Regions from separate parts of the Homo sapiens genome. Here all the other regions are linked to region 4. Evidence: promoter capture Hi-C in human tissues and cell types (Jung and others, 2019). All regions are on one chromosome and are shown on one strand. Each heading gives the region's core, a stretch centred on a gene start or on the middle of the fragment in contact. The rest is flanking DNA. Distances are from core to core; before and after follow the strand shown.

The links. Contacts are between HindIII fragments. The study calls those that stand out against the background at their distance.
Region 1: the fragment with the promoter of SCRIB here is called in contact with the fragment with the promoter of ZFP41 in region 4 in 1 of the 25 tissues and cell types used here (dorsolateral prefrontal cortex).
Region 2: a contact is called between a fragment that was not itself captured here and the fragment with the promoter of ZFP41 in region 4, in 1 of the 25 tissues and cell types used here (lymphoblastoid cells).
Region 3: a fragment that was not itself captured here is called in contact with the fragment with the promoter of ZFP41 in region 4 in 1 of the 25 tissues and cell types used here (dorsolateral prefrontal cortex).

The regions. Positions count from the first base shown.
Region 1 is chr8:143,813,707-143,817,299 of GRCh38, forward strand. It overlaps SCRIB (scribble planar cell polarity protein), which reads right to left and starts at 2,067. Exons shown (of 37, transcript NM_182706.5): 1 at 1,508-2,067; 2 at 295-412; 3 at 112-190; 4 at 1-20. The coding sequence starts at 1,666. PUF60 (poly(U) binding splicing factor 60) reads right to left here. Exons shown (of 12, transcript NM_078480.3): 11 at 3,204-3,439; 12 at 2,638-3,113. The coding sequence ends at 2,814. RefSeq lists enhancers at 445-1,109, 1,394-2,026, 2,027-2,659. The HindIII fragment of the contact is 41,605 bases long and covers 1-3,593 here.
Region 2 is chr8:142,396,000-142,399,314 of GRCh38, forward strand. The region is part of intron 1 of TSNARE1 (t-SNARE domain containing 1); the gene reads right to left. Among named protein-coding and RNA genes, the nearest start is that of TSNARE1, 5.5 kb to the right of the region's middle. RefSeq lists an enhancer at 613-1,114. The HindIII fragment of the contact is 4,419 bases long and covers 1-3,315 here.
Region 3 is chr8:143,778,256-143,781,935 of GRCh38, forward strand. All of the region lies in intron 7 of IQANK1 (IQ motif and ankyrin repeat containing 1), which reads left to right. Among named protein-coding and RNA genes, the nearest start is that of MIR937, 33 kb to the right of the region's middle. The HindIII fragment of the contact is 4,347 bases long and covers 1-3,487 here.
Region 4 is chr8:143,245,616-143,249,209 of GRCh38, forward strand. It overlaps ZFP41 (ZFP41 zinc finger protein), which reads left to right and starts at 1,324. Exons shown (of 3, transcript NM_173832.6): 1 at 1,324-1,527. RefSeq lists silencers at 419-578, 779-1,668, 1,709-1,758. The HindIII fragment of the contact is 22,994 bases long and covers 1-3,594 here.

The DNA of each region.
Region 1 (3,593 bases), core at 817-3,316, 570 kb after region 4:
GAGTGAAGCCATCAGGGAGCCTGGATGGGAGGAAGCAGAGGCCCTCGGATGACCAGTCCAGGGCTGTGGGACCCATAGCCCCTACCGACCCCACCACAGGCTGCCACCCACCTGGAGAGGGGGTTCCCGCTGAAGTCCGCGATCTCCAGAGCCTTGCAGAACTTGATGCTCTCCGGGATCTCAGGGATATCTGTCACAGAGGGTCACAGTGGACAGATGCCATGGCCTGCAGGCCGTCTGCAGCCCCAGCGGACACTCCCCAGACCCCACCCAGCCCCTGCCCAGGCTCCCCACCGTTCCGGGACACGTCCAGCTCCACCAGCTGCATGAAGTTGGCCACCTCGGGAGGCAACCGCTGGATCTCGTTGTCGCTCAGGCCCAGCTTGCGCAAGTTCAGCAGCCGGAAAAAAGGCTGTGGGCAGGGAGGACACGGACTCTGTGGCAGAGACCACTGCAGAGCAGAGAAGAGCTCCTGGACACGTGAGTGTCACAAGTCAAGAGTCCCTAGGCCTCTGTCTGCTCCAGGTCACACCGGGTCCTGGGGTCTAACCACGACACCCCATTTGCAAAAAAAGGAAAGAAACACACGGTACACACGCCCACTGTGGCTGCCTCCCTCTACTCTTCACACCAGCCTCCACTCTGAGAAGACACCTGCTGGCGACCAGACAAAGCCCCAATCCCCTACCCTGTGTCTTACCTCAGGGCCCACCCAGCCCCTGAACCACTTCTGCCACCCTCCAGGGGCCCACACTGGCCTCTGCTACTGCATCCTGACAACAAGCCTGGCCTGGTTCTGCAGCAAGAACTCAGTAAACGCTCCCCACAATAACACAGTACCACAGGCACAGTGCTACGCGCGAGGCCTGCAGGTGGCCACAGAGGACCGAGCTGTCACTGCCACGGCCAGAACAGGGTCACATTCTTTGGGACACCCAACCCCTAGGTACTGATCACCCAGCACCCCATCTCCAGAAAAGAAATACTTTTTAATCTGCTTTCTCCAGCCTCCTTTCTTGTAGCAGCCTTAGGAGAGCACCTGACCACGAGAAGCAAGGGTAAAGAAAGGGGGACAGCGAACAGATCCGAGAGCAAAGAGTACATCAAGAGGGCTCCCCCACTCACCCCTGCACCCAGCAAAAAAGGAGAGGAGGTCTGGACCCACCTCCAGAGCGGCCCAAGAAGCTAGTACTCATCAGCCACCTGAATCCAAGTTCCACCCTAACCCCATCCACCTCCCTGAATCCCCACGGGTTTCACTCTGAGGCTCCGCCTCCAGGCTCGGTGACAATCGCTATCCCCAGGCAAGCACCTGATGACCGCTGCCACCTGCGCCAGCCAGGGCGGCTGGAAGAGAAGGGTGGGGCTGGCTGGGGTGGGGACCTGGCCAGTGCAAACCAGCAGGGCCGGCTGGAGGCTGCGGTGACTCGCCCGGGCAGATTCTGCCGCCGGAGGAATCACGGGCTGGGGGCGCGCCTTTGGGCGGCAGGTGCGGGCGGCCGCTCACCTTGGGCAGCTCGCGCAGCTGGTTGGCGTCGAGCAGCAGCTCCTCCAGGCTGCGGCTGTAGCGGTAGATCTCCTCCGGCACGGCCTGCAGCGAACAGTGCCGCTTGTCCACCGACTCCACGTGCCGGTTGCAGCGCCACAGCGGGATGCACTTGAGCATGGTGCGGGTGGGCGGCGCGGGCTCCGGCGGCGGCGCTCGGCGGGCTCGGGGCCGGGGGGCGGGGCTCAGTCCGCATGGGCGCCGCGCATGGGGAGGGGGCGCAGGCAGGGGGCGGGCCGCCCGAGACTGGACGGGGACGCGGCCGCGGCCGGCGCTGGGCCCGGCCCGCGCTCGGAACGCTCGGACTGCGGGCCTGGGCAGGGGGCGCGGCCCGGCGGGTCTCAGACTCTTAGGAAGCGCGGGGAGCGGCGGCGGCGGCGGCTCCGCATCCCGCTTGGTCCTGCTCAGCTCGTCCCGCCCGCTCGTCCGCCCGCTGTGCCGCACCGGAACCGCCGCTGCCCGCCGGACTGCCCCGCCGACACCCACCCGGCCGCCGCGCAGCCCGTCGGGAAGCCGAGTCCGGCCCTCGCCGCCTAGCACGCCCGGACTGCGGCCCCCAGAAGGCCCCGCGCGCCGCCGCCTCTGAGGACCCGTAGCGGCACCGCGCAAAGCGTGCCGGGAAGCCGGGCCCGCCCCGCGCGCGGGATATTGGGAGCTACAATCCACGAGAGGCGGCGCCCTCCGCCCTCCGGTCTTCAGCCCGGCCCCTGGCCCCGCGGCATTTGGCCACGAATCTTAACGCACAGCCTCCTCCCGGGAAGCGACCATGCCCGCCCGCCCGCCTTGGACGGCCGGCTCTGCGGCACAAAAGCACTGGCAGCGCGCGCTGTCCAGCGGGTCGCGGTGTCCCGGTGCCCAGCCTTCTCTCAGCACCACCCTGCGGGGACGGCTGCGAGCCCGCGCGCGAGAGCCTGGCGCCCCAGGCAGCCCCGCCCACCCAGCCGCCGCCACCCGCGGGACGGGGCCCGGGGCGCCAACCCCCTGCCCAGGTCTCGCCCACGGCAGGCCCCTCCTGCCAACAGGAAGCAGGTCCAGAGACCCCCCCAACCCTGCCTCCTCGCCCTAGACCCCCTAAGGACACACGCCCAGGATCGGTGACAGGACCGACGGCAGACACACGGACGTTCAGGGCCAGCAGCATCCGCACCTTTATCCGCACTGTAGGCTGGGCTGGGCAGAGCGCGCCTGGCCCCGGGGACACCACTGTATCACTATAAAACCCAGAGGAAACAAGGAACAAGTGCAAGTCCGGGGAGAGGGACCACTGTCACGCAGAGAGGTCACTGTTATCAAAACGCTCCTGGTCGTACACTTCAGCCACCACCTTGCGGCCAGCAAACCAGCGGCCATTGAGGGCCTGGATGGCCTTATGAGTCTCAGAGGCTATGGAAAACTCCACAAAGATCTTGACAATGATTTCTGCATCCTCCTCCTCGCCTTGTTTCTCTTGGTAGATGATGACGCGGTTCACGGCCCCGAACTTGCCACACTCCTCTGTCACCTCCCCTTCCAGGTCATCATCGATGTCCTTGGGGTCCACCATGTTGCGCAGAACCATCACTGTAGACTGTGGGGCAGGGCCGAGGGGAAGACAGCTGAGCACTGCGGCCCCGCCCCCCTACCCTCTCCCCCGCCACCACCCTGCCCCTCTGCCTACCTCCTGCTTGCGGAGCAGCTTCTGCATCACCATGTGTCGGGCGCTACTGCCCGAGATGCTCATGTGCTCCTGCTCGCTCAGCATCTCTGGCCGCTCTGACTCGGGAAACAGCTCCTCTTCTTCCTTCTCCTTCTTGGGCTCCAGGAGACCCAGCGTTGGAGGGCTGGCCAGGATGGGGTTCACCACTCCCACCGAGGGGATGGTGACCGGGATAGGAGGACGGGCTGGGGTCACACCTGCAGGAAAACCAACCAGGTCCATCAGTCACTCCCTACCACCCCCCTTCCCAGAAAGGCACAGAGCTGGCCTGCCCTGGGCTCAGAGGGTTGTGCCCAGACCACCAGGGCCAGGCAGCTGAGGGCAGCGAGCCGAGAGATGCCAGGACAGGAG
Region 2 (3,315 bases), core at 368-2,867, 850 kb before region 4:
CTCTCTTTGTCCGTGGCTCTGTCCAGGGCAGACGCCTGTGGCTCTCTTTGTCCGTGGCTCTCTGACAGGACCCTTGATGACCCATGCCCTCAGAACACTGGCCCTCATCTTCCCCAGACCATGCCACACTCAACTCCTTCACCATCACCCCTCCAATGCCCAGCTTCCCATTGGTACAGGTTCAGTGTGCACCCCTCAGATGACACCCAGGGTCAGGCTCAGGCGATAAACACAAACACACACACACACACGCACACACCCGCGCACCTGGCCCCAAAGCCCTGGAAACGCTTGACTCAGCTAGACACCATCCACAGGCAACCACAGCCTCTGGGGGCTCACACCACCCCGACCTCCTAGCCTCAAGCCTTATGGGAACAAGAATCTTGAGCTCCGCCCACCTCCCCTCTCCATCAGAAATCTCAACCTCCATACCTGGATTCCTTCAAGCCTGTGAACCCCTGCCACACTCTGCTCTGGAACATCATCTCAAGATGGAAGGGAGGGACAGGATTAGGTCTTTATTAGTGCAGTAATTGCCATTATTAATAACATCCTCTAACTCAACAGGGAATTTTTGTTTGTAAAGCTGCTTCCAGCCTGGTCCCCCTGGAGAGCAGCAGGGCAGGATCGCCAGGTGGGCCGGGCAGCAGAACGGTGAGCAATGCCTCTGATTTCTGCCTCTGATCAGAATCCTGGTGAGAACACCAGGGCTCAAGTCATGGCTGGGCATTTACCACCCCCGTGACTTCAGGTAAGTTTCCCAAGGCTGGGAAGTTTCCTGATCTGAGGAGCAGGAAGAGCCTAGCAGGTGCCTGACAGATGCCCTGTGGTCAAAAGCAGGAGGTGTTGTTATAATCAGAATCCAAGACAGCCTGACGCTCAGGTCTACTGTGCGAGCTGGCCGTGCCATGGCTGACCAGGTAGAGCAAGCTCTGTGATGTGTGTAGCAGTGGCGAGGCAGCCCGAGGGTCTCACAGGAGAGAGGCAGCTCCACCTGCCCTGGGGCTGCACTCCCTGACCTTCCACAGCCCCTATGTGTGGCAGTGGCGAGGCAGCCCGAGGGTCTCACAGGAGAGAGGCAGCTCCGCCTGCCCTGGGGCTGCACTCCCTGACCTTCCACAGCCCCTATGTGTGGCAGTGGCGAGGCAGCCCGAGGGTCTCACAGGAGAGAGGCAGCTCCGCCTGCCCTGGGGCTGCACTCCCTGACCTTCCACAGCCCCTCTGTGTGGCAGTGGCGAGGCAGCCCGAGGGTCTCACAGGAGAGAGGCAGCTCCGCCTACCCTGGGGCTGCACTCCCTGACCTTCCACAGCCCCTCTGTGCACCTTGGGAATTCTTCCCTACACCCCTCAGGTGATGTCCCCCAAGACGCCCGGAGATTCCAAGTCTCTGGGACAGACACAATGCTGCCCACCTCCCAGGAGGCTGCAGGATCAGACTAATGACATGGAAAGGCAGGGCTCCTGGAGGGGCCAAGTGACATGGCCAGGGTCCCACGGCTAAGATGTGGCAATGCTGTGTCCCTACCTGGATGTTACGTAAGTCAGGGCTGGGTTGTAGCCCTCCCCACAGGGCAAATCAGAGGGAGAAAACGAGGCAATCTTCCACTGTGGAAGAAAACAACAGTTGATCTGGCCACAGCACTGGGCCAGAGGCTCCCAGGCCAGCGTGAGTGCCTGGCTCTGCTCACTGGCTTCCATGCTGGGGAGGGCTCGAGCCTGCAGCCTGAAGCCCAGGGTTGCCAGGACAATGAGCAGCAGCTGCTGCCAGTCCACTCAGCTGCGTGGCTAGCCCACCAATCCATCGAGGGGGCCCACAGCGCAGCCACCACAAGGCACCCAGCACACAGTGCCAAGGCATGGAGCCTGGCCCCTGCAGGCTCCAGACACAGGCCCTCGGTGTGGCACTGCTCCACCCAGCCCTGTCTCCAGACCTCTTCGGCAAACCTCAGCCTGGGCCCCGGGTTCCCTGCTCAGCACCAACAGCCATCAGAAAAGCCCAGGCCTCACCCTGCCTCCCAAGACCCTCACAGGCTGACCCGAGTCAGACCTGCCTACTAGGAGTCCAGCACTGCTGTGCCTTCCCTTGGGCCTCCCGCTGCCTGGAGTAGCTGCCTCTCCTGCCCTCCCCAGCTAAGGCCACTCAGCTCTCCAGACACAGCTCAGGCCTCACCAGCATCCAGGATTCTTCCCAGGTATCTACCCAGCCCTGCCCAAAACGCACCCCCAAACCCTCCCAAAGCGCACCCCCAGCCCTGCCCAAAACACACCCCTAGCCCTGCCCAAAACATGTCCCCAGCCCTGCCCAAAACACACCCCCAGCCCTGCCCAAAACACACCCCTAGCCCTGCCCAAAACATGCCCCCGGCCCTACCCAAAACACACCTCCAGCCCCAAAATATGCCCCCAAACCCTCCCAAAGCACATCCCCAGCCCTGCCAAAGCACAACCCCAGCAGAGTCAGCTCCCCTCTCCACCTCCTCACTCCACCGCCTCAACCTTGCTCTGTAAGGTGCCCTCTCCACCTCCTCACTCCACCGCCTCAACCTTGCTCTGTAAGGTGCCCTCTCCACCTCCTCACTCCACTGCCTCGACCTTGCTCTGTAAGGTGCACAGCAGTGTCCGGAGCAAGGCCAGGACAGCCTGATCCTGCTTGCCACTGTGTCCATCCCAAGACTCATGCCAGGCATGGCCTTAGCATAGTCTCACAGAACATTACACATCTCAGACAGCAGCCCTGATGGCAGGGGCAGGGGCTGGGGACTTGCCAATGACCCTGTCCAGGCAGGAACACCCAGTAGACTGTCCTGCTTGCCTGCAGTGGCCCCCAAGTGGGTTCACATCCTAACAGGACCTACCCAAGGACAAAAAAGGAAGGGCCCTGTGCAGCACAGTCCGGATTTGAAGCCCACACGGAGCCACCTTCACCCCCATCCCAGACTCAGCAAGCCGCAAGTTGACGAGAGAATCTCATAGCCTGGATAAGGCCAGGCAGGACAGCCACAGCTGGCTTCTGAGGACAGCCCTGGATGGCAAGCAGGACACCCCGAAGCAAGGCCCCTGCAGGAGACACCGCCCAACTGGGCTCCGTAGGTGAGGACACCCCGCCCATAAGGCATCTTCAGAAACCTATTCAAGGCACCTGGCTTGTCATTGTTGGTAGTGCCCTTCTTCTCTGCCAGGGAACTCAGACCAAGAAAACTCTTCCTATGGAAGCTTCCAGATGGCTCCACCATGCAGCACTAACAGGAAGGATAGTGGAATAAGAACAGCACAGGCTCAAGATCAGCTGTGAAACAACCCCTCACGTCTTCA
Region 3 (3,680 bases), core at 64-2,563, 530 kb after region 4:
TACCTATAAGAAACAAGCTTTAAATGTAAAAGCACAAATAGTTGAAAATTAAAATGATAAAAACAAATATGCCAAGATAACACTAAACAGGATGCTGAAGTAACTGTATTAACATCAAGTAGATTTCAGAAAAAAGTATGTTACTAAGGATAAAAGAATCATTTAGTAATGACAAATGTAGGAATTCATCATGAGGACATAAAAATCCTAAATGTTCATGCAGCTACTAACAGGGTTTCAAAATGCATGAAGCAAAAACTATGAGAACTACAAGGAGAAATAAAGAGATCCACAATGGTAATAGGCGATTTTGCCATCTCTCTCTCCCCATAATTGATGAGACAAGTAGACGGAATATCAGCGATGATACCGAAGAGCTGAACCACGCTGTCCATCACCATCCCTTCATCATTCATCAGTCATCGTTTCCATACATTCACCCACTTCATCCATCTCGCCCCAGTATTGGTTTGCGCTTTCGCCAATTCATAATTATCTTATTAACTTGAGTCATTTATTTATTTATTTAGAGATGGAGTCTTGCTCTGTCACCCAGGCTGGAGGGCAGTGGCGCAATCTCACTGCAACCTCTGCCTCCCGGGTTTATGCGGTTCTCCTGCCTCAGCCTCCAGAGTAGCTGGGACTACAGGCATGCGCCACCACGCCCAGCTAATTTGTTCTTTTGTATGTTAAGTAGAGATGGGGTTTTGCCATGTTGGCCAGCTGGTTTCGAACTCCTGACCTCAGGTGGGCTGCCTGCCTCGGCCTCCCAAAGTGCTGGGATTACAGGTGTGAGCCACCATGCCCAGCCATGAGTCATTTATTTATAAACTTATAAATAAATTTATAAGCTTATATATAAATTTATGAACTTATAAACATATATAAATTTATAAACTTATAAGCTATCCACTCATTAATGTGCCCATTCCACCCTTACACCATGTTTAAATAATTATTCACTTATTTTTTATCTACTATTCATTCAGACATCCATTCATCCATTCATACACGCATTCATGCTGTTTACTTGACAGAAAATTATGAGAAAGCAAAGAAGGACTGTGTCTCGTTCACCCCTTAATCGTATGCCCCAGTATTGGTTGACCACGATAGGCACTGAAACATTTTGTTGAACGATGAATTCATCCATCAATTCATCCATCCAGTTGCTCAACTAACCATTTGCTTATCTCACGTATCCATTCTTTACACTCATTCATCTATTAATTTTTCATGTATCAGTTCATCATTTAATCAGTTCATTCAATTAATCTAATCTTCATTCTCTTATAGTTTAATTCATTAATTTACTCATTCATTCATCATTTATTGCCTATTCATTAAGACACTCGTAAGTTTACTCGTTATATTATCCTTTTATTTTCTGTCTTCATTCATTTTCCGTCTACTCCAGTTCTTCCACTTACAGACAGAACTTTGGCAAGTTCTGAAGCTTATTTGAATCTGTTTCCATATATTCAGAAATGGGACTAATAACAGCTTTTTGAAGATTCATGAGATAGTGAATGAAATTCCTTGGCACAATTCCTGGTGCAAAGTCAGTTCTCAAGAAATGGTAGCTATTATTATTTTAAATGAGTATCACAATTTCTTTTAAGTTACAAAATCATTGCCTCATTCGTATGTCTGTTCACTCTTCCATCCTATTTATCTAGTTATCCATTCATCCCTTCTCTCATTTTAGCTACTCCTTGATTTTATACATCTTCAGACTTTCCTTTTTAATTACAAATGACATACAGAATATTGCAGAAATCAAAGTTGTGGCTCAATTATTTACCACAAAGGAAATACTCATGTAGTAACTACCTGACTCAAGAAATAAAGTATCGCCAGAACACCACACCTCTCCCCAGATCATCATATCCTGAATTTTATAGTGCTTGCTTCCTTCTTTTTTTCAAGTTACAAAACTTTCCTGAAATATGTATAAAGTTCCCAGTTTAATCCTCTCAACAAACCTGATTGTAGTATTATTAATATTCCTACATTATATACAAAGACTTTATTATATACAAAGAAACTTAAGCACAGAGATGTTAAGTCATCTTTTTTTAACTTTTCTTTTAGGTTTGGGGGTACATGTGAAGGTTTGTTATGCAGGTGACATAGTCATGGGGATTTGTCGTACAGATTATTTCCTCACCAGGAACTAAGCCCAGTACCCAATAGTTTTCTGCTCCCCTCCCTCCTCCCACCCTCCACCCTCAAGTAGATCCTAGTATCTGTTGTTTCCTTCTTTGTGTTCCTAAGTTCTCATCCTTTAGCTCCCGTTTACAGGTGAGAACATGTGGTGTTTGGTTTTCTGTTCCTGCGATAGTTTGCTGAGGATAATGGCCTCCAGCTCCATCCATGTTCCTGCAAAGGACATGATCTCATTCTTTTTTTATGGCTGCATAGTATTCCACGGTGTGCATGTACCACATTTTCTTTATCTTGTCTGTCACTGATGGGCATTTAGGTTGAGTCCATGTCTTTGCTATTGTGAATAGTGCTGCAGTCAACATATGCGTGCATGTGTCTTTATGGTACACTGCTTTATATTCCTCTGGGTATATACCCAGTAATGGGATTGCTGGGTCCAATGGTAGTTCTGCTTTTAGGTCTTTGAGGAATTCCCATACTGCTTTCCACAGTGGCTGAACTAATTTATACTCCCACCAACAGTGTGTGTGTGTTCCCTTTTCTCCACAACCTCACCAGCATCTGTTATTTTTTGACTTTTTATAGTAGCCATTCTGGCTGGTATGAGATGGTGTATCCTCATTGTGGTTTTGATTTGCATTTCTCTGATGATCAGTGATATTGAGCTTTTTTTCATATGCTTGCTGGCCACATGCATGTCTTATTTTGAAAAGTGTCTGTTCATTTTCTTTGTTCACTTTTTAATGGGGTTTTCTCTTGTAAGTTTGTATAAGATCCTTATAAATGCTGGATGTTAGACTTCTGTCAGATGCATAGTTTGCAGATATGCTCTCCCATTCTGTAGGTGGTCTGTTTACTTTGCTGATAGTTTCTTTTGCTATGCAGAAGCTCTCATGTTTAATTAGATCCTACTTGTCAATTTTTGCTTTTGTTTTGATTGCTTTTGGTGTCTTTGTCATGAAATTTTTGCCCGTTCTTATGTCCAGGATGGTATTGCCTATGTTGTCTTCCAGGGTTTTTATAGTTTTGAGTTTTACATTTAAGTCTTTAATCCATCTTGAGTTGATTTTTATGTATGGTGTAAGGAAGGGGTCCATCTTCAATCTTCTGCATATGGCTAGCCAGTTATTCCAGCACGGTTTATTGAATATGGAGTCTTTTCCCCATTGCTTGTTTTTGTCAGCTTTGTTGAAGATCAGGTGGTTGTAGGTATGCAACCTTGTTTCTGGGCTCTCTATTCTGTTCCATTGGTCTATGTGCTTGTGTAGTACCATACTGTTTTGGTTACTGTAACCCTGTAGTATAGTTTGAAGCCGGGTAACACAATGCCTGCAGCTTTGTTCTTTTTGCTTAGGATTGCCTTGGCTATTTGGGCTTTTTGGTTCCATATGAATTTTAAAATAGTATTTTCTAGTTCTGTGAATAAAATGCTTGGTATAATAGTTTGATAGGAATAGCGTCGAATCTGTAAATTGCTTTGGGCAATATGGCCATTTTAATGGTATTGATTC
Region 4 (3,594 bases), core at 74-2,573:
TCCATCTGGGGGTGGGGCTCTCCCACGGACCCTGGGGAAGCGGCCACCCTGTGAACCGCCCACCCTCCCACAGTAGGGACTGGCAGGCAGCCCCCGGGAGCTGAGAGCAGCTCCTGCCGGCCCTCAGTCCTACAGGCACCAGGACATGACTTCTGCCAGCAATCGCATGAGGTGGGAAGTGATCCTTCCCCAGTCCAGCCCCCAGATGAGAACACAGCGGCTGACCAGAGCTGAGGACCCAGCTAAGCCTGGCCTTCTGGCCCACAGAAGCCTTGAGATAATAGGCGGATGTCGTTTTAGGACACCCAATTTGCGGTACGTAGGGAACTAACACGCGGGGCTCTGGCGGGCCTGGCGGCTCAGTGCGATCTGGGCAGGCAGGAAGTGGAGTGAGCACAGCCAGCGGCTGGGAGCACATCCCGGAGGGGCTGCCTGCGGCGGGAGGAGCGGCAGGGGCCACGTGGTGGGGGACGGCTCGCCAGGGCGCGCACGCGGTGGCGGCGGCGGTGGAGGCGTTGCCCGCCTAGCTAGGGGCCCGCGGCCTGGAGAGGCGTCGGTTCTCCTTCCGCGCTGAAGGCGGAGACAGCGACTTCCCGTGGAGGCAAGCCGTGGGCGCCGCGGAGGCGGGGGCTGGGGGTCGGCGGAGGCGGGAGCTGGGGGTCGGCGGGGGCTGGGGGTTGGCGGGGAGCGTCCTCAGGGACAAGTCTCCCAGCACGCGGCCGCGACCTCCCCGTTGGGGGTCTGGAGCCAGGAGCCCACGCGCGTCGGATCCGGAGAGTCTGGTGGGCGCAGCCTACGTGACAGGGTCGGCTCGGGACCGAGCTGCTGGGGACTGGGCCTTGCGGGGCGGGGCCGCTGGGGGCGGGGCATGAGGGTGCCGGTTCGGGGCGGGGCTTTTTGGGGGCGGGACATGGGGCGGAGCCTGGGGGCGGAGCATGTGGGGAGGTGGCTGGGGAGGAACTTTCGGGGGCGGGACACGAGGGCGGAGCCTGAGGGGGCGGGGCATGAGGGGAAGCCGGCTCGGGAAGGAGCTTTCGGAGGCGGGGCCCGCTCGGGGAGGGACCTGATTTCGGGGGAGCCTTCGGGAGGGCGCCTGCCATAGACGACTGTAAAGGGGCGGGGTCAGCTCGGGGAGGACCCTGCGGGCGTGGCGGCAGTTATGGGTGAAGCCTGAGGGGGCGGGGCCTGATCGGGGCGGGGTCTTCGGGGGCGGAGTCGGCTGGGGATGGAGCCGCTCGGGCCGAGCCCTCCACCGCCCACCATCACCGAGTCCGGCCCAGGCTCCTAGCGCGGCCGCCGGAAGGGGCGGGTCAGCGGGCGGGCATTTCCTGCCGGTGCCTAGGGCCGACGGGGACGCTGGCACTGGTGGGGAGCTGTTGGGGGGTCCCGCATCTAGGGCTCTCCTTTCCTGCCTCCGGCCCCCGCGAGGGGCGCGCGCCTCTCCCCGCCCTCCAGCAGTCCTGGTAGGGCCCGGGCGCGTCCGCGCTCTGCAGCGGGAGGTCCTCGTCGCCTCTCGTCTCCAGCCAGGTACTCACTGGGCTCCTGCCTGCCGCCTCCGGCCCAGGACGCGCAGCGTCGGTATGGGCCCCGCCGCCTCCCCGCACCCCGGCGCTCCAGGGATGTGGCAAGACCCGGCTTTGAGCACCTCCCGGGCGCCGGCCCCGAGGCCGACCTAGCTCTGCACGTGGGCCGCGGGGCTCTGCCGTTGAAAGGAGAGCCTCTAACTAGGAGCACGCACGGGACCCTGGCGGGCCCCTCCGCCTGGCTCAGATGCCTGGCATCTCAGGCCTTGGCACAGCTAGCAGGCCCCTGGCAGGCCGTGGACCCAGCAGGCTGTTTTAGTGCAGATTGCCCCTGAATCTCAAGCCCACTAATGTTCCAGTCTCTCCATGAGACCCAGATCCCTGAAAGTAGTGGAGGGAGGCGCCAGGGTGAGTGAGGTTTTCTAGGCAGCCCTTACCGCCCACGGATACCCAGAGCTTCATATTACAAGTGAAGGGTCCTCCGCCCAGAGAGGCGACGGAGCTACGCTGGAGTTGCACGACAGAACCAGAACCCCAGTCTTTAGGGGTGTGGCAAGCGTGGGTTGCGCTGTTTGTAACTAGCTAATCACTCCTGTCTACAGGCCTGTGAGGTGAGGCCAAGAAAATCGCTATGGTCCAATCCGTTTTTGTTTTTTGCGTGTGGGGTTTTTTGTTTTGGTTTGGTTTGGTTTTTTTGTTTGAGACGGAGTCTTGTTCTGTCGCCAGGCAGGAGTGCACTGGCGCGACCTTTGCTCACTGCAACTTCTATCTCCTGGGTTCAGGCAATTCCCCTCCCTCAGCCTCCTGAGTAGCTAGGACTACAGGCACGTGCCACCACGCCCAGCTAATTTTTTGTGTTTTGGTAGGGACAGGGTTTCACCATGTTGGCCAGGATGGTCTCGATCTCCTGACCTCGTGATCCGCCCACCTCGGCCTCCCAAAGTGCTGGGATTACAGGCATGAGCCACCGCGCCCGGCCAGTCCACTCTGCTTTTAAGAAATATTTTATTTCTCAGGGTGGGCAGCGTGTAGAGAAGTGAGTCATTCCAGTCTCTGCCGGTTAGCACCTGCCAGCCTAAGTTGAGTCGACAGAGCCGTTATGGAGAATGTTCCCTGACCACAGTATGTGACTAGGATTTGGAGATAAAAAAGATACGATCCTCGCCTTCAGGAGACCCTGTCGCATAAGGAGACTGCCATGTCAGTGACCAGCCACACGTGCAGTGACAAGTGTCTGGAAGAAGGAACAGTGCTGTACAGCATGGAGGACCCCCACACAGGCCTCGGGCAGCAGCCGTTAGGCTCAGTGGGTTCACAAACCACCCCCCGCCCCGCCGTGGAGTGGAGTCTGCAGAGAGCCAGATAGGTTCCCGCCATGCCCTGGAGAGCTGCCGTTTCTCCAGCTCCGCCCTGCCCATGAGGCAAACAGCTGGTCGACTGGTCTTCTGTGCTGGTTCTTGGTTCTCACCTTTGTTTCCTACCAGAGCTGGACCCCGGCCTCAAACTCCAGCCAGCTTGGGCTGTGATCCTCTATCCTGGGCACCAGGGCCCACCCCCTGCCCACCCCAGCAGAGATGCTGCTTTATGCCTGCATCCTCCCTCAGCACACGTGGCCTTCATCTTCAGTTCTGGCGCCCACCTGATCTGCCTCCTCCCACACGCCACCTCTAGATAGAGCCCTAGAAAGTGATGTTGGCCTGAAACTGAGTCACATTCATCTAAACATTTTCCTGTAGAAAAGACCAGACCCTCCTTGTTGAGATAGGAAATCTGTAGTGAGTTTATGTGTTACCTGCACTCATGAGGGAGAGGAGGGAAGGCCACCAACCTCCTCTCAACAAAGAGAATTCAAAGTATTTATGTGTTGAGTTGTGTCACTTACGACATGCATATCAGCTCCACTTTCTACCTAGGGTCAACCCTGGCCTCAAACTCCAGCCTGGTTGACCAAGAACTAATACAAAGGGTACGGAATATTATTTCTTAGAATATGACTGGGCATGGTGGCTCCCACCTGTAGTCCCAGCTACTCAGGAAGCTGAGGTGGGAAGGATGTGACATGAGGGGTTCT